2 separate regions of the Homo sapiens genome follow, and region 1 is linked to region 2. The links are contacts of gene promoters, found by promoter capture Hi-C in blood cells and fetal thymus (Javierre and others, 2016). All regions are on one chromosome and are shown on one strand. Each heading gives the region's core, a stretch centred on a gene start or on the middle of the fragment in contact. The rest is flanking DNA. Distances are from core to core; before and after follow the strand shown. Region 1 has its middle 12 kb from the start of SCYL3. Region 2 holds the start of MROH9 (maestro heat like repeat family member 9).

Region 1 (7,599 bases), core at 1,204-3,703, 1.0 Mb before region 2:
CTGTGCTTCCAGCTCAGGACAACATAAAAACCATTTGCTCTGTTTCCTTAAAAAAAAAAAAAAATTCCCTGTTGCTCACTGTACTATTCCAAGTCTTTCTCAGGGCTGCCATCTCTCCTGAGTCTCTCCCCTCCTCCCTGCAAACAAACACCCACCCCAGTCTCAGTTCTACCTCAAGGAAGAAGCAGCTAGATCGGGGAACTTACTGCTTATGGGACAAAGGGATTCAGTGCAATGTCTGTTCCATCATCAGCAAGTATATTAAAAATGAGTAAAACAAATCCCAGTGATTTTAGACCTCCTCTGAAAACTTTTGCCCTCAATTTTGATACTAGTTTCTTAAAAAATTATTTTCCTCTTTTCTCACAGCAATTGTTTTCTCACCAATCTTTTGAATTTTTTCATTTACTTTTTTTCCTAACTTTGCCTCTCACTGTATGGAATCTAAATGGAGTTCATTAGGAATGAATTTATTGATCCAGTGACATTAGCAGCAGTAAAAGCCACTACGGTGTGTACAACCAAGTGGCAAAGACACGTGTGTTCCCAAAACACAAGGAATAGCACCACTGCTATCTTCTCACCATTTTTGATAAGAGAGGTGCGGAGGAAGAGGAAGGGCTTATTTGTCTTTTTTATCTTCTGCAAGAAATAGGAAACCAAGAAACAGCTAAAGGAAATCCGGTAGTGATGTGCTGAAATCAGAGTAGCCCTAAACCAAGTGTGTAAACACGGCATTTTAATAATAGGAATTCAGACCAAGAAGGGTAATTAGGAATTACATGAAAATGTGATTACACTAATAAAGTTATTTTAGAGAGAAAAACTAAAACAGAAATTGGTACCACAAAATTAACTCTCCAGACAAAGGTTGGGCCAGGTGTGCATTTGGTTAGGTCTCAGAGGGGAGCTCAATTCAGGGCACTCTTTCTGCTCCCCGTGATAGTAGACAGTGAAGTCACTTGTCTGCTGGGTAGATGTGTGCATTTGGAGCTTTGCTGTGTCTTCATTTTGAGTACTTTTATTGCCGCCTAAAAAATGCCTGGACCAATGAATGGCTGAACAAAATGTATTCCAAACAATGGAATATTATTTGGCCATTGGAAGGGATAAAGTTTTCATACGTGTGACAACATGGATGCTGTGAAAACATCATGTTAAGTGGAAGAATCCAGGCACAAAAAGCCACACATTGTTTGAGTGCATTTATATGAAATGTCCAGGTTAGATAAATCCACACAGAAAGAAAGCAGATACATGGTTGCTAGGGGCTGGGGGTAAGGAGGAATGGGGGCATGACTGCTAATGGGTAGGAGGTTTCCTTTTGGAGTGATGAAAGCATTCTGGGAACTGGATAATGGTGATGGTTGTGCAACCTTTAGAATATACTAAAATCCACTAAATTATATTTTTAAAGTACATTTTAAATGTAAATTTTAAAAAGGTACTTTTATGGTATCTGTATTATTTCTCAATTAAAAAAAAAGACCATGCTATGTGTATTAGTCCATTCTTGCTCAGCTATAAAAACATACCTGAGACTAGGTAATTTATAAACAAAGGAAGTTTAATTGGCTTATGGTTCCGTGGGTTGTACAGGCTTCTGCTTCTGGGGAGGCCTCAGGTGACTTAAAATGATGGCAGAAGGTGAAGGGGAAGCAAGCACATCTTACATGTCAGAAGCAGGAGGAAAAGAGTGAAAGGGGAGACCCTACAGACTTTTAAACAGCCAGATCTCATGAGAACTCTGTCACGAGACAGCACTAGGGGGATGGCGCTACATCATTACAAACCACCTCCATGATCCAGTCACCTCCCACTAGGTCCCACCTCCAACACTGAGGGTCATACTTCAACATGAGATTTGGGTGGGGACACAGAGCCAAACCATATCACTGTGTACGAGCATGTACACAGGTACACATGAAGGGAGATGAATATCACATTCATCAAGTCATTAACAGTTGAAACAAAGTGGAACTCTATCAACAGCATGTGCCTTATAACATATTCTGTGTTATTAAAAGTCAAATTTGAGAAAACTAAAAATTGAGGATACTCATAAAGACATTAGAAATGTTAAAAAATAAAAACAAGTAGCTAGACTTGGTAATTTCAGTGAGAAATGATTGATAGGCCCTGATGTGGTTTGGCTCTGTGTCCCCACCCAAATCGCCTGTCAAATTCTAATTCCCAGTGTTGGGGGAGGGACCTGGTGGGAGGTGACTGGATCATAGGGGTGGATTTCCCCTGTGTTCTCCTGGTGATACTGAGTTCTCATAAGATCTGGTTGTTTAAAAGTGTGTGTGTAGCACCTACCCCTGCTCTCTTTCTTTCCTGCTCCATCATGTGAAGAAGGTGCTTGCTTCCCCTTCGCCCTTCCACCATGACTTTAAGTTTCCTGAGGATGCCCCAGCCATGCTTGCTATACAGCCTGTGGAACTGTGAATCAATTAAACCTCTTTTCTTCATAAATTACCCTGTCTCAGGTTGTTCTTTCTAGCAATGTGGGAATGGACTAACACAGGCTCAGCGTCCCTTTCTTAACTATTTCACTCCATTTCTGGAGTTTGTATGAACCCTCCAAACTTGTGTGGTTCTCCTTTTCAAAATCACCAAATTAAAACTGATGCCTTTGCAGAGAGTAGCAGGTGGTTGCCAGAAGCTGTGGGGTGGGGGAAATTGGGAGATGCTGGACAAAGGGTATAGACTTTCAGTTTAAGATGACTAAGCTCTGGGGATCTAACATACAACACACTGATTACACTTACTAATACTGCATTGTATACTTGACATTTGGAGACAGTGGATTTTAAGTGGCTTCCCCCTTCCTCACCCCACATACACACAAATAGTAACTAATTGTGGTGATGATAATCTTTTTTTTTTTTTTTTTTTTTTTAAAGACAAAGCCTCACTCTGTCACCTGGACTGCAGTGCTGTGGTGCAATCAGGACTCGCAGCAGCCTCAACCTCCCAGATTCAAGCGATCCTCCCAACTCAGCACCCCTCACGTTCTCCCCACCCCCAACTAGCTGGGACTACAGGCATGCACCACCATGCCCAGCCAATTTTTTCTAGAATTTTAGTAGAGATGAGATCTCTCTTTGCTGCCCAGGCTGGTCTTGAACTCCTGGGCTCAAGTGATCCCCCCACCTCGGCCTCCCAAAGTGCTAGGATTACAGCTGTGAGCCACCGTGCCTGGCTATGATAATCATTTCACAATGTATCCATCTATCAAGTCATCACAGTGTACACCTTGAATACATACAATTTTTAATCTGTCCATTATATCTCAATAAAGCTGGAACACAACAATAAGATTCCTTCAGCCCAGGACTGGAAATAAAGAAGCTCTTAGAATGGTGATCATTAAAAAGTCAAGAAACAACAGGTGCTGGAGAGGATGTGGAGAAATAGGAACAGTTTTACACCGTTGGTGGGACTGCAAACTAGTTCAACCATTGTGGAAGACAGTGTGGCGATTCCTCAAGGATCTAGAACTAGAAATACCATTTGACCCAGCCATCCCATTACTGGGTATATACCCAAAGGATTATAAATCATTCTACAATAAAGACACATGCACACATATGTTTATTGAAGCACTATTCACAATAGCAAAGACTTGGAACCAACCCAAATGTCCAACAATGATAGACTGGATTAAGAAAATGTGGCACATATACACCATGGAATACTATGCAGCCATAAAAAAGGATGAGATCATGTCCTTTGTAGGGACATGGAGGAAGCTGGAAACCATCATTCTGAGCAAACTATCGCAAGGACAGAAAACCAAACACTGCATGTTCTCACTCACAGGTGGGAATTGAACAATGAGAACACTTGGACACAGGAAGGGGAACATTACACACCGGGGCCTGTTGTGGGGTGAGAGGAGGTGGGAGGGATAGCATTAGAGATATACCTAATGTAAATGACGAGTTGATGGGTGCAGCACACCAACATGGCACATGTATACATATGTAATGAACTTGCATGTTGTGCACATGTACCCTAGAACTTAAAGTATAATAAAAAATAAAAATAACAAACATTTTTAAAAGAATAAAAAGTATTTCTGCTTCTGGTAAAAAAAAAATAAAAGAAAAAAGAAAAAACCCTGACAGTTAAGCTAACCAAAAGGTGATGTTTCCTTGACTCACCCTCCTGGAGTCTAAGCCTTAGTGGGCAGCTCCATGTCCCACCTGGTGCAAGCTGTAATAGATATAATCTGAGGGGTTCAGCTTCATATTCATGTACTAGTGCAGTGCTGATTACACAGCAGACTTGAAACAGTAGTAAATTGTAGAGAAGAAGGAAAAAGAGCTGAACCTGTAAGAACTCACTCATCATTTCTGTCTCATTCTATTGGTAGAAGTGAGATACAAGGGAAGCCCAGTTTCAAAAAGTGAGGAAATAGAGTCCATCTTTTGATGAGAGGAGCTGGAGAATACCATGGTCACCTTTTTTAGTTACATATCTCCTTCTGCCACAGTTATTTACATCCCATCCACAAGCAAAATATGCTTACCTCCTCTGCCAAAAACCTCCTATCGTTATGGCATTAGGCTCTGGTTTAAAGTGTAGGATCTCATCATCAAAATCACATCCAGGCATGGATGAGGCTCTTTGGGAGTGGTGTTCAGGTTCTCTTCTAGTATGGCTCTTCTTGATCTAGAACCTGTGGACTGAAAGAAGGTACCTGCCATCTTGAACTCTCCACCCTTACCCAACATGCAACAGTGAGATGGACACAATAACCACAAAGGATACTCCCATGGAAACAGAGATGTGTAGTCATCTTGGGTTCATAGAAAATCTGAAATGGTGCCAGGAACATGTGCCAGTTCCCTTTACTCTAGGGCCAGGGAATGTTCCTTAGAGCTCATTTTTACTTCCTTTGAATAGTTTCATATTATACAATGGTGCTATAATTGTACAAGAGGTAATCCTGTAATAAATTCCATATGCTATATCACTCATAGTGGTTCTGTTTTTCTGATCAAACTCTGACTGATACAAGCCCAATTAAAAAGAGGTGCCCCCATTAGTCTCAGAATTTTCTTTAGTGGCATTACTTACTGGATTCTGGATCTTAGATCTGTGGATGATCCCTATCAGGTCAGGAAAGCTTCAGGAGCCACCAGTGGGATTTTGATGTAAGGGATTCCAGGGGATACAAACAAATTTATGCCCTTAGAAAAACAACCACTTTTGGTCCAGTTGGAGCTACTTGAGTTGGAAGGTCTTATGGGTCTGGTGCCTACATCGTAGCAACAAAGCTTCTAACTATATTTTGAAACAGATTAAACTGCGAACAGTCCAGAGTGATGGCTCAGATCTGGAGCGAATTAAAATATCAATCGTACTTTAAGGAAGGGGCCAAAATATTACACTCACAAGAAGGCGGCATGGCAGACACTGGGCCTCCACTATTCTGAAGGATGGCTGTGTCAACTGAGATCAAAGGGGAACCTGTGATAAGAGGAAAATACCCTGGTAGGATTTACAGTGGAAACACAAAGACTACTAGTGCGTCACGGATAGCAATGCCACCATAACCTGAAATAAAGTTAAATGCTAGGCTCTGCCTTCCCACCTACATGCCCTCAGAAAAGAAGGACCAAGCAAATTGGCACAATATATTTAGCTCCAGGTAGTTTCAATGCAGACAGTACAAGAAGCCAGGTGATTGGTGGGCTGCGGCTGATGGGCTGACTATATGGTCACATAGATGGAAACAAAATGCCTCGATAATTAGTGTAAACCCAGCTTGGGAAAAGTAACTATAGAAAGCCCTGCTGATGTATGTAGATACCAACTTGATGAGGGAGAGGTTTATAAATATATGAAATAGATGCTCTAACTTGAACCACAAGCCTATAAAAAGGAAAACTGGGACAATAGGGGTTATTTCCATCTCTGAATCCAATAGATTAGGGAATTAAATGAAGAATATAAAGAGGGTACTCCAACCACTTGGAGAGAATCTGAGGCACTTCCATACTGCATCAAGTGATGGTACACAACCAGATGCAGAAGAGGAAAATTACTTTTCAGAAAGGCTTGTGGGGTCCCTAATTGCATTCAGTTTTTCTTCTCCTTCCTCTAGCTGATGGGACTCAATGGATATATTCCCAAGGCAAAGAAGAAGCATTGCTAGGAGTTTTCCCTCCAATGAGGAAATGAGCTTGTCTGATAGGAGAGGATAGCTATTTAGGCTAGAATAAATACCTTCTATTAGTGTCAAACACTTATTTTGCAGGACTAGAGGCCTGATTACTCAGAGAGAGACTTGCATTAAAGAAATGGAAGTAGTACAGCTAGGTGTGGTGGTACGCACCTGTAGTCCCAGCTACTTTGGGAGGGTGAGGCAGGAGAATCGCTTGAACCCAGGAGGCGGAGCTTGCAGTGAGCCAAGATTGCGCCACTGCACTCCAGCTTGGGTGACAGAGGGAGACTTCATCTCAAAAAAAAAAAAAAAAAAAAAGCAAAAACAAAAAAACAAAAAGGAAGTAGTGGTGAAGGCAGAAACAGAAATAGGTAACTAAGAGACCAGATGACTCACATCTGGTGATGAACAAGCTAAGAAAAAAAGGCCTAAGATATAATGGACTAAAGTTATATTTACCCTTTGGTGACAATTTTGGCTACACTGTTACACTATATACACTATACTTTTAATTGTATTAGGGATGATGACAATATTTATGACCAGTTGTGCAACTCAACAGCCATTAGTGATTACCACTACGGCAGCTGGTTTTGTGTGTACTATATTGTGTGCTTGTAGGTACTCAGGATGGTAGCTTTTGCTGTTGCTACTTTTAGGTCAACCAATGTATCTGATGTGGAAGCAGAACCCCTGTGTCCTGTTGCCTGAACTACAAACAGTAATTGTAGTTACATTATAACATCAGCATCTGCCACATCTGCTGGAACAAATAATACAGATGTAGTATCTACTGGCACAAGAATTTCATGCTCACAACATCCTTGCTCTCCCATATAACCTGGACAGGAACCTATAACTAAGGAACCTATACCTAAACTATAAACAAGCACACAGCCATTTCAAGAAGTTTCATGTGGGAATTCCTGTGTATTTACTGGTTTCAGATACTGAAGATATACCTACCAGTTAATTTCCTATGAACTAGCAATTCTCAACCCTGGTTGCACATTAAAATCACCTGGCAGAATTTTTTTTGAAATAATTAAAAAAAATTTTTTATATGTCCAGGGCTGACTTTCAATACATTTCAGCGAGAGAGTTGCTCTGCTACATAGGAAACCCCAAACCCCGACCCAGAAGCAGGTCGTCTCTGAGTGATTCAGCGCCAGGTTCCCTACGAACGTGCCTTGTATGAAGGGCGTGGGGGTGGCTGCCTTTTCGGCTGCACCCCATTTCCCAGGACTAGGGGCTCTCTGCACCCGACCCGGTCCCGGTGCACGGCCGGGCAGCCCGTCGGGACCTGGCAGAACTTTTAAACCACGTGATGCATGTGTTCCATCCCCAAAGATGATTTAATTGGTTTGAGTTGGATATATATATTTTTAAAGCTCCCCAGATGATTCCATAAAATGCATACT
Region 2 (7,600 bases), core at 27-2,526:
ACTATATACTAAAACTAATTCAGAATGAACCAAAGACCTAAATGTAAGGCAAAAACTACAAAACTCTTAGAAAAGTTCTAAATCTAATCTCTGTGAAGTTGGGCCAGGGAATGCAGGCAATGTCTTTTTCTTTTTTTTTAGTTATGATACCAAAAACACAAGCAATAAAAGAAAAAGAATGGCAAATTTAAATTTCACTTAAATTTAAAACTTTTGTGCTTCAAGAGACACTGTCAAGAAAATGTAAAGGCAGCCCATAGAAAAGGAGGAATATTTGCAAATTATGTATCTGATAAGAGACTAGCATCTAGAACATATTAAAAAATCACAACTCAGTAATAAAAATCCAAACAGTCTAATCATAAAAAGTCACATATTGTATAAATCTATTTACATAAAATGTCCAGAAGGCAGACAGAAGATTAGTGGTTGCCAGGTACTTGGGGGAGAGGGAGGGTGAATGTCTGCTAACAGGTACAGGGTTTCTTTGGAGCTTGTTCTAAATGAAAATGTTCTAAAATTAGATAGTAATGATGGTTGTATACCTCTGTAAATATATTTAAAATGATTGAATTATATACTTTAAGATAAATTTTATGGTATGTGAATTATATTTTAATAACTCTATTATAAAAAGTGCTACAATAAACATCCTTCATGTCTCTCAGTGCATCAGTTGTATACATGTTTATACACTCTATGGACCTAGAACTGGAAATTCTGGGTTGTAGATTTTCAGTTTTGCTAGAACTTGACAAGTTTCTCTACAAACTAGTTATATCCATTTATAATCCCACCAGTCGTGTGAGAAAGTTCAACTTTCTTTTATCTTTGCCAATATTTGAAATTATCTTTTTTTAATTTTTACTTGTATTTTAGTACTTTTTAACTTATTAGCTGGGAAATAATATTTTAATGGTTTGTATTTTCATAACTTCAAGTGAGATTAAAAATCTTTTAAAATATTTATTGGCCATTCAGTTTTCCTTTTCTGTGAATTTTCTATTCTTATCCTTTGCCCAGCTTCTACTGGACTGTTGGTCTGAAGAACTATCTTTCAGTGCTTGTAACATAGAAACCAGAAACTTACCCACCCCTCAATAATGACAGGTGAGCATTAGTAGCCACTTGGGCATGCCAGGACATTCTACCACATTCATTCCAGAATGGAATCTTTGAAACATATGGTTGCCATGACGAGTGTCAACATTTCAAAGAATTTGCTTGGTTGATAACTACCTAGAGTATTTTACCTTTGGCTAAGAGGTAATATACTAGAGTTTCTCTTCACTACTTTGTCTCACCGTGATTACAGAGAAGTTACAAATATGTAAGTGAATTCCTATTAATATTTCTGTCATTCAAAAGCTTGTCTTTTTTTCTAATCCTGACTACTTTTCTTAATTTTTGTTCTGTTAAGAAAAAGAACCATGAATACATTAGAAAATTACGTTATGGCCCAGGTATGGTGGCTCACACCTGTAATCCCAGCACTTTGGGAGGCTGTGGGCGGATCATGAGGTCAGGAGGTCGAGACCACCCTAGGCAACTTGGTGAAACCCCATCTCTACTAAAAATACAAAAATTAGCTGGGTGTGGTGGCGGGTGCCTGTAATCCCAGCTACTCAGGAGGCTGAGGCAGGAGAATCACTTGAACTCGGGAGGTGGAGGTTGCAGTGAGCCGAGATCATGCTACTGCACTCCAGCCTGGCAACAGAGTGAGACAAAAAAAAAAAAAAAAAAAAAAAAAAGAAAAGAAAAAGAAAATTACATTACTATGGGCCCTCATCCAGAAATCTTGCCAAAGTTGGCAATTGGAAGAATTTGTCTTTATTCATTAATCTCCTAACTTCATGCCTTACTAGTAAGGATTATCTTATTAGTAAGGATGAGAGAAACCACAACTATATAGATAAATATATTTATTATAAGGTATTGGTTTACACAATAATAGAAGCTAGGAAGTCCTGGATTCTGCTTTCTGCAAGACAGAGACCCAGGAGATCCAATGGTGCAGTTTGAAGGCCTGAGAGCAAGAGAGTTGATGATAAAAATTCCAGCCTGGTTCTGAGGATCTGAGAACCAGAGCACCGAGGGCAGCAGATTTGTGTCCCAAGTCAAGTAGTCAGGCAAAGAGAAAACTAAGCATTCTTCTGCCTTCTTGTTTTATTCAGGCCCTCAATGGATTGGAAGATGTTGACCCACATTAGGGAGTGTCATCTCCTATCATCAGAACACCAATTTAAATGCTAATCTCTTCTGGAAATACCCTCACAGACATACCCCAAAATAATGTTTACCAGATATCTGGGCATCCTATGGCTCACTCAGTTTGACACGTAATATTAACTAACCATAATGAGTTCCCACGTTGAAAATTTGGCACCCATATACATATCCTTAAGCCATAGTTAATCTCCAAATAAAGTCAATAAGAAGCTCATAATTCCATTTAACATGTTGAAATGTAGTGGGATTGATAAGGAATCAGAGAGACCGATGGGGTTGAGAAGGATATTTATTATTTAGGTGCACCGGCCCAGTTGGATTAACCTCCAAAGGACTGAGCCCTGAACAAAGAGTTATCTTTTAATCATTTCGTGGGGTGGGGGAGATCTGTGTAGGGGGAAGCATATTACAGAAGTGAGAAACAAAGACAGTTATTCAATTAATTGAAACATGCATTACATCATTTCTTACTTTTCAAGGAAAAACATGTTTTATGACTTGAGTTTATCTGTCTAGTGACCTTGCAGCTGCACAGCTAGAGAAACAGGGTCTTCACAATGCCTGGGAAAGGAGGAGAGATAAGGCTCACTAGCCACAGAAAAACAGGCAGTTAATTTTAAAGGACTCCAGCTCTTTCTCTTTCTCTGGGGAATTGGGTTTTCTTACATACAACTGAGTTTCTGCTTACACATTCTTTAATTTCTTTTAATTCCTGTTCCAACATATGTCCTGCATACAACTGAAAATGCACTAAACCCTTCTCAGAGGAGGAGATAAAGTCCTTCAGTGATGTTTACTCTCTTCCTTGATGTCCTGTAACTTAAACACTATGATGTAACATTAACAATACTTAAATACTAGAATATGAAGTCATTGCATTTTGTATTATGTGATAAGAGAATAAGAAAAGAAAAAATATTTGGTATCTAATATATACACAAAGAAATGTATTCAGAACAAAATTAAAAGGAAATACTCATAATTATTACAGTCTTCATTTCTGCACTGATCACAGCATCATAATCAGTATTTTTTTTTTTTTTTTTTTTTTTTGAGACGGAGTCTCGCTCTGTCGCCCAGGCTGGAGTGCAGTGGCGGGATCTCGGCTCACTGCAAGCTCCGCCTCCCGGGTTCACGCCATTCTCCTGCCTCAGCCTCCCAAGTAGCTGGGACTACAGGCGCCCGCCACTACGCCCGGCTAATTTTTTTTGTATTTTTAGTAGAGACGGGGTTTCACCGTTTTAGCCGGGATGGTCTCGATCTCCTGACCTCGTGATCCGCCCGCCTCGGCCTCCCAAAGTGCTGGGATTACAGGCGTGAGCCACCGCGCCCGGCCCATAATCAGTATTTTTAACTCCCTTTTTCTACTACACATTCTGTAGTTTCTTTGCCTTCAGTAAGCACCTCAGCTGCTTGTGGTTCTTTACCTGCTAAAGTGATCCATAAAGGTCTGGGTCACTAGTAGTCCTACCTGCACTGGGTGGTTGTAGTTTTCCATTGATCTTAATCACAGGACACAGTAATACTAAGAGACACACTAAGGGATCTTTTGTATTGCAGACATACTCTTCCTTGCCTCCATTATGGAATAGTAGCCCAAGTTCTCTTTGGTAGTGTGGATCAGTCAGTCCAACCAGCACCATAACTCCCTTCTTAGCCTGTTGACTCAGAAGCACAAGGAGACCAAGGTGGCCAGGTGGCAGTCTTAACTTCCAGTTCAGTGGAATTATTGTCGTGTCCCCTGATGGAAGAATTCTTCCCTCCAGAACTGAGATCTCTAAGCCAGCAGAGCATAATGCCACAAGAACAGGAAGCTAGTGGGACACTAAGGATAATAGTGAGTGGTGCAACTCTATTTTCACCCCTTGATCCCTAGACCCAGGAATCCTGGTTATAGGAGAAATAGCACTATAAATTGAACATATTCAGAGCATATTCAGTTTTCCGGAGAACCTTGCCCCAGCCCTTCCAGGTATTGACATCTAGCTGATGACGTAACTGAGTCTTCAAAAGGTCATTCCACCGTTCCATCAAACAAGTGGCTTTAGGATGGTGGGGAACATGGTAAGACTAGTGAATTCCATGAGCATAAGCCAATTGCCCCACTTCTTTGGCTGTGAAGTGAGTTCCTTGATCAGAAGCAATGCTGTGTGGAATAACATGATGGTGGATAAGGCATTCTATAAGTCCACAAATGGCAGTTTTGGCAGAAGCATTGCATACCTGGACGGCAAATCCATATCCAGGGTAAGTGTCTATTTCAGTAAGGACAAAATGCTTCCTCTTCTATGATGGACGCAGTCCAATGTAGTCAAGCTGCCACCAGGTAGCTGGCTGATCACTCTGGGCCACATCAAGGACTCAGTGTTTTTCTCTGCTACTGGCATATTGGCCACTCGGTAGTGGCCACAGCTAGGTTGTCCTTGACAAATAAAAGTCCATGTTGCTGGACCCATACATAATTTACATCCCTGACACTATGGCTACTTTGCTCATGAGCCTATTGGGTGATGACACTAGTGGCTGAAGAAATAGCCTAATTGGTACCTACAGAATGGGTCATCCTATCTGCTTGATTATTAAATAATCCTCAGCAGAGATTGCCCTTTGGTGAATATTTACAGGGAACACAAATATCTTCAAACTTTTTGCTAATTCTGAGATGTCTATCCACTTATCTCTTCCTCAAATTTCTTCATCAATTTTCCAATCATGTTCCTTCCAAGTTTCTGACCATCTAGAAAAATCACTGGGCACAGCCCATGAATCAGTATATAATCACACATCTGGCTATTTCTCCTTCCAATCAAAGTAAAAAATCAGATTCAGTGCTCGAAGTTCTGCCTACAGGGAGGATTGCACTGCTTGGGGTTTTGCCCACTGGGAGTATTTCTCTTGGCCATTGTCCTTCAGAGATGTCCCAAAAGGGGGCTATAGGGATACAGTCATCCACTTTCAAGTTGTGCCTGTATATCATGTAGAACCAACTGTAAACCAGGCTGTTTTCTTCCTCTGTCAATTGATCATAGGGAACTCCCCATGAAGCCATAGTTGCAGGCTAATAAAGAGAAGGCAGTGTAGTAGGAGGAAGGATCACTGGCTTTTGGCCATTTCTTTATGTAATTTACTTGTGCCTTCAAGACCTGCTCAGGCCTGATCACACATATATATCACTTCCATTTGATGATGGAGTACTGCCGTGCACACCCAACTTTATGGCTTGGTGGGTTGGATAACACCCAGTTCATGATAAGCAGCTCAGATCACATGGTAACTTGGTGCCACGTGGTCAAGCATTCAGTCTCTACTAAGGCCTAGTAGCATGTCAAGGGCTGTTTCTCAAAAGAAGACTAACTATCTGCAGAGGAGAGTAAGGCTTTGCTCCAAAATCCTGGGGGCTTGCACTTCAATTCACTGCCAAAGGCTGAAAAGAGCATCATTATCTGCCACTGATGCATCAAGCACCACTGGATCTGCTGCATCCTATTGTCCAAGTACCAGAGCAGACTGTACAACAGCCTGGACCTGTTTCAGTCTTCTTCTACTATGGGCTCCATTCAAATTAGCAGCTTTTTAGGTCACTTGGTGAATGTGCTGGAGTAACACACCCAAATGAGAAATATGTTGCCTAAAATCTGTAGGGGCCCATTGGGCATTCTGCTTCTTTTTTGGCTTTAGGAGGTACCAGATGCAACAAGTTACCTTTAACCTTAGAAGGGATATCTCAACATGCTCCACACTACTGGACCCCTAGAAATTTCACTGAGATAGAAGGCCTCTGAATTTTTGTCAGATTTATTTCCCACCCTCTGGCACACAGGTGTCCTGCCAATAAGTTTAGATATTGCTACTTCTTGTTCAGAAGATCCAATAAGCATAATGTCGCCAATATAATGAACCAGTGTAATGTTTGTGGATGGGGAAGTGATTAAGACTCCTGAAAACTAAATTATGACATACAGCTGGAGAGTTGACATGCCCCTGTGGTAGAACAGTGAAGGTGTATTGCTGGCCTTTCCAGCTGAACACAAACTGCTTCATGTACACCTTACGGAAAGGGATAGAGAAAAAAAGTATTTGCCAGAATAATAGCTGCATACCAGGTACCAGAGAATATGTCAATTTGCTCAAGCAATGAAATCACACCTGGAACAGCAACTGCATTTAGAGTTACCACCTGGTTAAGCTTATGGTAATCCACTGTCATTCTCCAAGATCTATCTTCTTCACAGTCCAAATAGATAATTTAAATGGGGATGTGGTACAAATGACAACCCCTGATTCATTTAAGTCCTTGATGATGGCACTAACCTCTGCAATCCCTCCAGGAATGCAGTATTGCTTCCAGCTTACTATGTTCCTAGGTAGAGGCAGTTCTTGTGGCTTCCACTTGGCTTTTCTCGCCATAATATCCCCCATTCCACAGTTCCGGCAACCAGTATGCGGATTCCACTAGCTACTCAGCTTGTCTATTCCAATTACGCATTCCAGAACTGAGGAAATAACATCAGTTATAACAAATAACTCTGTAATAACCCAGGATGGATTGGGGACACACCGGACCCACTGTTAGAAGGACCTGAGCTACACTCCATTGATCTCCTGACCTCCCTAGTTCCCTATTCTGACTGGATGGCCAGAATGACATTTTGGGTCTCCTGGAATTATTGTCAGTTCAGAACCATTTTCTAGTACTCCCCAGAAGGTCTGATTATTTCCTTTCCCCAAGGCACACTTACCCTGGAAAAGGCCATAGGTCCCTTTGTGGCAGACTGGAAGAAAGATTCACAGTATAAATTTTGGTAGTATACTAAGGTCCTTCTTCAAAAGGGCCCAGCCTCCCTTTCACTCAAGGAATTCTGGGTTTATAAGCCAGCTTAAGCCTGGGAAATGACTGAGGGATCATGACTCAATTTTTTATTTAGGTTATATTTTTGTTCACTTGACCTAGAACTTTTATGCTTATACAAATCAAATAAGAATTTAATAGGCCTCCTATCTGTTTAACTTCTAGGAACACCATGATCAACTAGCCAATACCATAGGTTCAAAAGAGTCAGACTATTTTGACTGCTGCTTTGACTTTTTGTTGCTCATTAAGGCAACTGCACTCATCTTTCCATTGGCTGTTGAGCTTGCCCCTTTGCCCCTGCCACCCTGAAATCCAATTATCCTCATCACATTTACATTTCCCTATTCAGTGGCTGCAGTTTCCACCATAGTAGGGTCTGATTTACAGAAAAGAGCAAGCACAGAGCTCCTCAAGGATGGTGGGACTTCCCTCACAAATTGCTTGCTGTAGTGGCAAAAGGTGTGTCTTCTGGACACTCCCGGCGTGAGGGACTAGGTCTTAAATGACAAATTCACTCTA

Evidence for each region. Contacts are between HindIII fragments. The CHiCAGO score rates a contact against its expected background, and 5 or more counts as called.
Region 1: a contact is called between a fragment that was not itself captured here and the fragment with the promoter of MROH9 in region 2, in 4 of 17 cell types (M0 macrophages, M1 macrophages, M2 macrophages and 1 more). The highest score is 8.0, in M0 macrophages.

What each region holds. Positions count from the first base shown.
Region 1 is chr1:169,902,311-169,909,909 of GRCh38, forward strand. No RefSeq gene overlaps it. Among named protein-coding and RNA genes, the nearest start is that of SCYL3, 12 kb to the left of the region's middle. The HindIII fragment of the contact is 5,363 bases long and covers 1-5,135 here.
Region 2 is chr1:170,934,258-170,941,857 of GRCh38, forward strand. It overlaps MROH9 (maestro heat like repeat family member 9), which reads left to right and starts at 1,277. Exons shown (of 22, transcript NM_001163629.2): 1 at 1,277-1,330. The HindIII fragment of the contact is 7,245 bases long and covers 1-1,366 here.